Linked DNA regions of Homo sapiens: region 1 is linked to region 2. The links are contacts of gene promoters, found by promoter capture Hi-C in blood cells and fetal thymus (Javierre and others, 2016). All regions are on one chromosome and are shown on one strand. Each heading gives the region's core, a stretch centred on a gene start or on the middle of the fragment in contact. The rest is flanking DNA. Distances are from core to core; before and after follow the strand shown. Region 1 overlaps LOC105376755 (a long non-coding RNA gene). Region 2 holds the start of TMEFF2 (transmembrane protein with EGF like and two follistatin like domains 2).

Region 1 (4,210 bases), core at 1,562-4,061, 2.6 Mb after region 2:
AGGGATGAGGTTGCCTGAGATAGGGCATGAAGATAGGACTTTAGGAATAATATTGAAGGTAGGCTGACAACACTAGAGGCTGAATATTACTTCTTTCATTGTGTTTTGATAACGTGATCTCAGTTTTTCAGTGCTATATGTAACTGCTACATAAGCATGAGCTGTGTTTATGCCTGATACCAGTATCAAATATTAATCATGATGGGAACCTTCACTATATGTCTTACATCACAGAATTCTGATATTGGTCCAGAAACATATCAAAATAATGCCTCATTTTTATCATGTAAAAACATGTCATAAATTTAGCTAAACTCTTGAATTTCATTGAGATTTTTGGTGTATACATTGGTAAAATTGGAAGAACAATAAAGTTTAATATGTAAACATAAACATAATGTTGAACTTGCATGAAATCAAAATTTGTTAAACTTAGCAAAAGCATCTTAGAATACCTTTTGAAAACAGGATACAGAGAAAGAATGACTCATGGAGTTCATCTTAGAGTCATGGAAGTGGAATTTTTACCAAATAATTATTCAGAACCATTGCTATAATAAAGTAGCAAAAGCTAAACTCAAGCCAAAGACATAGAAAATGGTATTATTGCTTATTATAAGTAAAATTTTTGGTAAATGGGACTTTTAAACTAATTAATCATATTTAATATCTGGAATATAGCCAATGAAAATACTACCTTTTATAATTTTAATATACATAAATCAGAATGTTATAGATCTCAAGGGAAATTTAGAGTATTTACAAAAGCACAATTGTCCATAATAAAATGTGTACTTAAGATAGAATGGTATAAAACCAATCTACAAATGACCACAAAGTAACTTTTGCGTGCATATATATATATATACACCAAATTTAGCAAATGCATCTGCCTAACTATAATTTATTTACAATATGTCAAGAATTGACTTGAGATCTGCAATATAAGGTACCATAATAGCTCAGAGTAACATTTAACATTTATTACATTTTTACTGTACCAGTCAACTGGTTAGGCATGTTACATCACTTTATCCTTACAGCAACCTTAAGAGCTAGGTAAAAAACACTTTATAAAAGTAATTTAAATTAGGATTTTCAGAGGTTAAGAGGCTTGCTTTATTAGTCCATTCTCATGCTTCTATGAAGAAATACCCAAGACTGGGTAATTTATAAAGAAGAGAGGTTTAATTGACTCACAGTTATGTATGGCTGGGGAGGCCTCAGGAAACTTACAATCATGGCAGAAAGAACCTCTTCACAGGGCAACAGGAGAGAGAATGAGTGCAAGCAGGGAAAATGCCAAAGGCTTATAAAACCATCAGATCTCCTGAGACTACTCAATATCATGAGCCCAGCGTGGAGGAAACCACTGCCATGATTCAATTACCTCTACCTGGTCCTGCCCTTGACACATAGGGATTATGAGGATTACAATTCAAGGTGAGATTTGGGTAGAGAAACAGAACCAAACCATATCACTTGCTTAAAAATACTTAACTGGAAAATATAAGAGCCTTGACTGAAATTCACTTCTCTATGACTCCAATTCTCATTGTCCTTGACACTGAGAGTACAGACAGACATTGACTTCATTCATTTAAAATAAACACCAACAAAGAAGAAATAATTTTTACACAATAATGTATATACATTTTATTTTTATATATTTATAGATTCTCTAACATTATATACATGTTTACATGTATTCTTTAATTTTTCTGTAAGTTATTTGGCATTAATCTAGTTGTCTTGATGAAATTTTCACTTTCTTTTATTTGCCCCCAAATTCAAAATATAATGTTCATACTTTTTAAGAAAAATAATTTTCATCAAAGTGAAACTTTGAAAACTGAAATTTGGGTTTATGTGCAATATTGCAAATATGTCTCGTCTTGTCAAAATAACATATGTTTCCTGACAATACAGAGAAGCAACATATTTTAATCATGTCAATATATTTCAATATATTAAAGATCTCCTATGTATCTATAATTCTCACATCCACGAATATTTATATTATCTGAAAGATAAGATATGAGTCCTGTTTCTTCTGTATTTACAACGGAAAATGTTTCCACTACAATTTCTTACATTGTGAATTTTTTTTAGAGATGTAAGCATGTAGAAAATGTGATGAAAACCGTGGAAGCAGTTGACTTCCTTATTGAAAAGAAGGCTTTTTATGTATAAAATGGATATCCCTCTATCATAAAACAGTTATTTTGTGGGTTCTTATTTCTTTGCTTACATTCCTTTTTGTTAGATTGTTTTAATGATTCTTTATGCCCACATCTATTAATTGCTCACTTTCCAAGAAATATACATATACGCTCATAAGAATTTCAAGAATAAGACTGGTGAAACCTAAAGATATTTTTACCTTGTTAGTACAAGCTTTGTTTGAGTTACATACATCCAAAAAATAATTTGAATACAAGTAAATGTTTTCCTTTAACACTAGACAAGTAAGACTCTCTCAATGTAAGATGCTAAAAATTACCTTGGAGTAATTTTGGAGGAAAAAGAAAGATAAAATTCTGGATATTAGAGTGCATAAATATAACTTAGACTTAAACATGAGATTAAGAACATTAAGAAAATTAAACACAAGGCATAGAGAAATTAGAGGTCACTCAATCATATCTTTTGACATCTGATGGGTTTTGCAAAATTAATATGTTACTTGGTACCAGTTAACCAGGCACAAATTTCCATCTCTCTAGCTCTACTTTTGCCCCAACCCTGAATTCTTCATGATTAAAGGCTCTGCTCTTCCTTTAACATTTATTGATAAGCAATCTACATTTTAGAGCAAATCTTTATATCACATAGCATAGGTGCAGAGAAAAGGTAAGAATCAAGTGAGGAGCTATAAAGCAACATTAAAAAAATGGCATTGTCTCTCTTTTCCAAAATGGATATTTGCAATCAATCTACTAGTTAACTATAAATGGAACAATGTACTTTCTTCCTTTCTCCAAACTGGAGAAGAGACTTTTAGAAGAATCTGAGTAAACAGGAAAACTTAGTCTTATCTTACAAGTCAAGGAAGCAGTTATTAAGAACATATGGATAAGCATGAAATCAAATCTTATTCTCTGCAAAGGAGCAAAGTTTGAAAGTAGATGATTCCCTACTTAATAATGTGAAACACTAATTCCATAGAAGACCTGTAGCCTGGCAAACCATGGGGCAATTAGGAGAATAGTCCCCTCATTCTTAGAAAGCTTGGATGGAACTGTGTCTCAGAATTAATATCTGTTATTGTCCTGGAAGAAATAAATGTGTATGTTGGGGCAGAAAAATGTAAGTTTGTGTCTTATTTAAGTTATTAACTGAGAAACAGAGAGTCATATTTATATGACTGCAACTATTCCAATGAAGTAACAAAGAGCATAGACTTGGGAATGTTTTGCAGAAGAAAGATCATAGACCTGGGAATGTCTAGCCCTGGGAATGTCTAATGAACTGCTCTGTGGGCCACCCAGAATTTCTTGCTGGAACTCTGGATATATTTTGTTGCTTGGATATGTCAAATGTGGAAAAATAGATTGCTGGGGATGAATTTGGGACCCATACAAACTACATAAGTAGTTAGGTTTTCTGAAAAGTTGGCTGGAGATTGTACATTCAAAGTTTAAGGAAGAAGACAATTTTTACAGATAGGCAAAAACTCTTAATAGGGTATTAAATTTAGAAACTGAGGACATATAAGAGGATATATTTTTAGAAGACTACTATAGAAAGGGCTTATATCCTTAGGTGTTTTTCCTTTGGTCTATGTAAAAAATCTTACCTAGCATATAGTTCTAAATTTTATGCCCCATGTTCATTAATTACTGTAATGCTTATTCAAGTTTTATGTCCTATGTAGATAAGAAGAGAGATTCATAAGAGAATAAAGACATAAAGAAATTAAAAGAACCACAGCATATTGACACCTTTACTACCCTTTGTTCAACAGAAACATCATCCAAGTGATTGCGCCATGTCTAATACCTTCAGGTGTTCACTGTCACTGAAGTTAGTGTCAATCATGTTAGAGATGGGAAGACCTGAGAAAACTTATGACAGTGAGGTGGAGATAGACCGGGAAGAAATGTTAAAAATTCTTTTTCAAAATATACTACAGAACATGATAGGGCCTGTAAAAATGGCTTCATTCCCCTGAATCTTTTCTTTTTGTCATCTGTCAAAGAGGAATAAA
Region 2 (4,259 bases), core at 618-3,117:
ATCAGTAATAACTAGGAACTATACAGGCTTTCACCCTGAGTTACAGTTGGTCATTCCCTCCTCTCTAAAGTTACATACACTTCAGCTTATATACATCTTTGAAAGACACTTTATTCAGAGCCAGATTTAACTACAGCAAAATTATATTCACAGAAGATGAAAAATTACATACACACTTGCTAAAACTAGAACAGACCACACCTAGGGGACAATACCCAGGCATGTTAACGGAGTTTAAAATGCCAAGGAAATTACACCACAATTCTGCCCAGTATACTACAGGCTGTCAAACCGAAATGCTATGCCAGCTAGGAGTGCAGCAACTCCCATCCTCTGGCCCTATTTAATTAGGAAGCTTCAGCAGAGCGAAGCCTGCCAAGCGTTCGCCGTCAGAATCTGAAGGAACCCGAGCGAGCAAGAAGAGTGCCTGACCCACTCCACAGAAGCCTGTCCAGAAATGGAGGAGTCAGCGCCCACTGAAGTCGGTTCCGCCCTCGGCTCGCCTACATGGAGCCTGACCAGCCTCAGTCATGCCCACTCCGGCCTGGGAGACCCGCAAAGTGTTCTTTTTCTCAACTCCCCTGTACTACCTTGAAGCTTAGGGAAGCAAAGAGAGGGGCATATCTGGACTGCAAAACCAATGTCTTTTGCCGCCTAGGAGAGAAGGGAATGAGAGAGAGAGAGAGATAGATAGATAGAGAGAGAGAGAGAGAGAGAGAGAGAGAGAGAGAGAGAGAGAGAGAAATTCTATTGAAACCCAGCTCCTCTAGAATCTGTGTGACCTGGTCTTCAACGGGAGACCAGTGCGACCTCATGGCACCTTTGCCAGGAATCAGCGATTCCCCTGCAGTCACCATTTGATTTATTGCTTTCTCGCTCATTCTTTCTCATAAAGTTATTTCTTCCTCATCCTAGTAAGACTTTTTTCTTTAATGATGACAAAGCTTCTGTTTCAGTGTTTCCCCTAGGATTGGTGCTCTTTCAAAACAGTGAACCCAGAAAACCATCCCGTTTAATATTTCTCAAAATCCTCGCAGCTCCAATGTAAGCGCAAGCATGCAAAGGTTTCCTGCTACACCTGCACTTTCTGCCCATCCCAGAACCACCCCTCACCCCCGGGCCTGCAACAGTTCCCCTTGTTTCTCTGGATAGAGGTGGGTGGTATTAGGGGTCTAGGGCAGTAGGAGGTGAGGGGCTGAGGAGGCGCGCTAGGGTAGGCTGGTCTGTGCTGGATACGCGTGTTCTTCTGCGGAGTTAAAGGGTCGGGGACGGGGGTTCTGGACTTACCAGAGCAATTCCAGCCGGTGGGCGTTTGGCAGTCACTTAAGGAGGTAGGGAAAGCAGCGAGCTTCACCGGGCGGGCTACGATGAGTAGCATGACGGGCAGCAGCAGCAGCCAGCAAAAGCCCTCGCAAAGTGTCCAGCTGCTGCACTGCCGCGGGGACTCCCACAGCACCATGACTAGTTCGTGCAACTCTGCAGCAGCAAACGGCTTCCGAGGAACACAGGATCGCGGGGGCCGGGCAGCGGGCTACTGAGCATCCCGCGGACGGCGGCAGCAGAGGCGGCGGCGGTGGCAGTGGCACCCGGCGGGGAAGCAGCAGCCAAACCCGCGCATGATCTCGAGAGTTTCAGCAACATCCAGGGACTGGGCTCAGCCCCGGAGCGAGAGGGTCGTCCGCTGAGAAGCTGCGCCGGAGACGCGGGAAGCTGCTGCCATAAGGAGGGAGCTCTGGGAAGCCGGAGGACAGGAGGAGACGGGAGTCCAGGGGCAGACGAGTGGAGCCCGAGGAGGCAGGGTGGAGGGAGAGTCAAGGCGCCCCGCAGCCCGGCAGCCGCCTCTCGAGCTCTGCCGCCCGCATCCCTCTGGCGTTTGGGAAGCAGCAGGTCCTCAGCCCGCCCGGGGTCACGTGGGAAGAGGCAGTCGGGCTCTGATTGGTGGAGCAGGATGCAGGTCCCGGGAGGGAGGGGTCGACGAGGAGGTGCAAGGATGCAAGGAGGAGGCGGCCGCGGAAGCCACAGATGGGCTCGCTCGCCAGGCGCTGGCCCGAGTGGGGCTAGGCGGGGATGGCTCAAATGAGAAGCTCGGGCTTCAGGGTGGGCTACCCGCACACTCATATACCATTCGCCTCACTCTCCGCTCCAGGACGCCCCCTACCGAAGGCGGGGTCCGGACTAGCGCCCCTCTTCCGCGCGTGACCCCGGGCCGCGAGTGCGGGCCGCGGCTGGGTGGCGTCTCTCCGAGCTGGAGATGGTGGGGGCGGAGGTGTCAGAGGAGCAGCAGCAGCAGGGCAGAGAGGGGCGAGTCGGCGCGGGAGAGGGCGTCCTGCTGGCGACCGGCGCTCCAGCGTGCGGGAGCGCGCCGCCTAGGCTGTAGGGGGATGCAGGCTGGGAATGTCGCGGCGGAGAGGCCAGGGACGTTTCTCTAGGGATTTACAGGAAAGAGGGTGAGAGGCGATGGTGTTAGAACCGCTCTTGCCGACCTGGAAGCAACAGCAGCATCTCCCACAAGAGCGTGCAACCCCAAGGCTGCTCGCCGAGGCAGCTCAGCCATCCCGGCAGGCGCTCTCCTTCCTTCTCTCTTCTCCCCTCTCTCCTCCCAGGCCCCCCGCAGCTCCGACCCAGCCCAAGCGTTCGCAGGTTTGAATCCCTCTCCTCATCACCCGCTCCTCTCCAGCCCGTAGCCTATTAGTGTGTCCACCTGGGAGGTGCGGTCAGATGTGTTTGGAAGGTCAGATTGGTCGGGACAAGTGGTCTGAGAGAAAGAGAAAGGCTCCTCTGCATACGCCGCGGGTGGGTTGCCGGGAGCATCGGCCGGGCAGCGGCGTCCGGGAAGGGGAGAGCGGGCTCCATTTGTTGGCCCAGGCAGTGACCCTGCGTTCCTTACTCGGGTCTTTGCCGGATGGCCGGTGACCTGGGGCGACGAGAGAAGGTCTAACTCGGCAGGAGTCTCTGGCTCTGCGCGTTTCTTTCATTCTCTCCAGCGGGAAGGGCAAACGGCATAGCGGGACCCGCCTTCCGTCTGCTGCATTCTTCAGGCAGTTAGACACACTCTTTAGCCTAATGGAATTTTAGTCGCCAGTAACGGGACCAAGAGCTTTCGGGGACAAGGGTGGAGAGGAACATCTTTCTTCCATGACCGGGGTCACTATTGCAGTCTCAGTGTTTTGGATGCCCCATAGGGAAGAGCTTTCTTTTTGGTGTGTGATTATTCAGTGATTCCTGTTTTTGTTTTTGTTTATCTTCTCTCCGCTCTCCTTCTCTATTCCTCTCTGTTATCCCTCCTCCTTCTTCTCCCCCCGCTTTCAAAAGCCTCCGGATCCTCCCTTTTTCTATTTAAATTCTCCTTTTGTGCCCCTCTTTCTGTGTCCCCTGAATTTAGGAGAGCATTTGATAACATTTAACAGGCAATTAGTGTCCATTCCCAATCACTTAAAAGAGGCATTCATATACTTTGAAAACGGGACTATCTATCCTTTGCAGACACCAGCAGAAAAACAAATTGTACCCGAGTAATCCTTTTAAGTACTTTAACCTCCAACCTCCTCCCACTTCCTTGCTTTTTAACTTCTCCTTTGAGAGATGTGATCGTGCAGCACCTCAGTGCCTCAACGAAATCTTTTTTTTTTTCCTGTGTGAAATCCATCCCTTTATCTTACATCTCCGCCTCCGTCCGAGACTGTCCCTCTCCCCTCCCACCTCCAAAGATTTCTGAATCTCAGTGTCTCTCACTCCTGGCAATTAAGCAGCAGATCCCAGCATTCTAGTCGGTGGCATCTCGCTCCTCACCGACGAAGACTCCATTAAAACAGATCAATTAGACCAGACGTTGGAGGCATCAGAAAATCGGCTTCTAGACAGAGCAGCTAAATTCTTTAAGGAAACAGAATACCCATTAGATAGAGCTGCCAACTAATATTGCAAAACAAGGAATTAGAAATTTCTTTCGCTACAGGCTTTCAGCAGAGAAGGCAACATAAATATAGATCAAGATTTAACAACTCTACAGCAGAGAATGAGAACATGTCATTTTCCATAGCAAGGCTGGTGTGGTAACTAATCAGGCTTATGAAAATAAGTCATGCTTGAAACTAAAGGCAAAGTCCTTAAAAGTGTTTATGCAGTAATTATGATAATGAAACAGGACCTGCTAGGATTTCAGAGTTTGGCTATGTAAGTAGAATTTTAGAGAACCTCTTAGCAGAGGAAAACTGTTTTTGAATTTTCTGCTAAGTAAATTTTTGGCATACTTTCTAATA

The links. Contacts are between HindIII fragments. The CHiCAGO score rates a contact against its expected background, and 5 or more counts as called.
Region 1: a fragment that was not itself captured here is called in contact with the fragment with the promoter of TMEFF2 in region 2 in 1 of 17 cell types (endothelial precursors); the score reaches 6.7 in endothelial precursors.

The regions. Positions count from the first base shown.
Region 1 is chr2:194,815,171-194,819,380 of GRCh38, forward strand. All of the region lies in intron 3 of LOC105376755 (a long non-coding RNA gene), which reads right to left. Among named protein-coding and RNA genes, the nearest start is that of LINC01790, 87 kb to the left of the region's middle. The HindIII fragment of the contact is 833 bases long and covers 2,396-3,228 here.
Region 2 is chr2:192,193,066-192,197,324 of GRCh38, forward strand. TMEFF2 (transmembrane protein with EGF like and two follistatin like domains 2) reads right to left here and starts at 1,868. Exons shown (of 10, transcript NM_016192.4): 1 at 1,288-1,868. The coding sequence starts at 1,459. RefSeq lists an enhancer at 1,814-2,389. The HindIII fragment of the contact is 4,792 bases long and covers 943-4,259 here.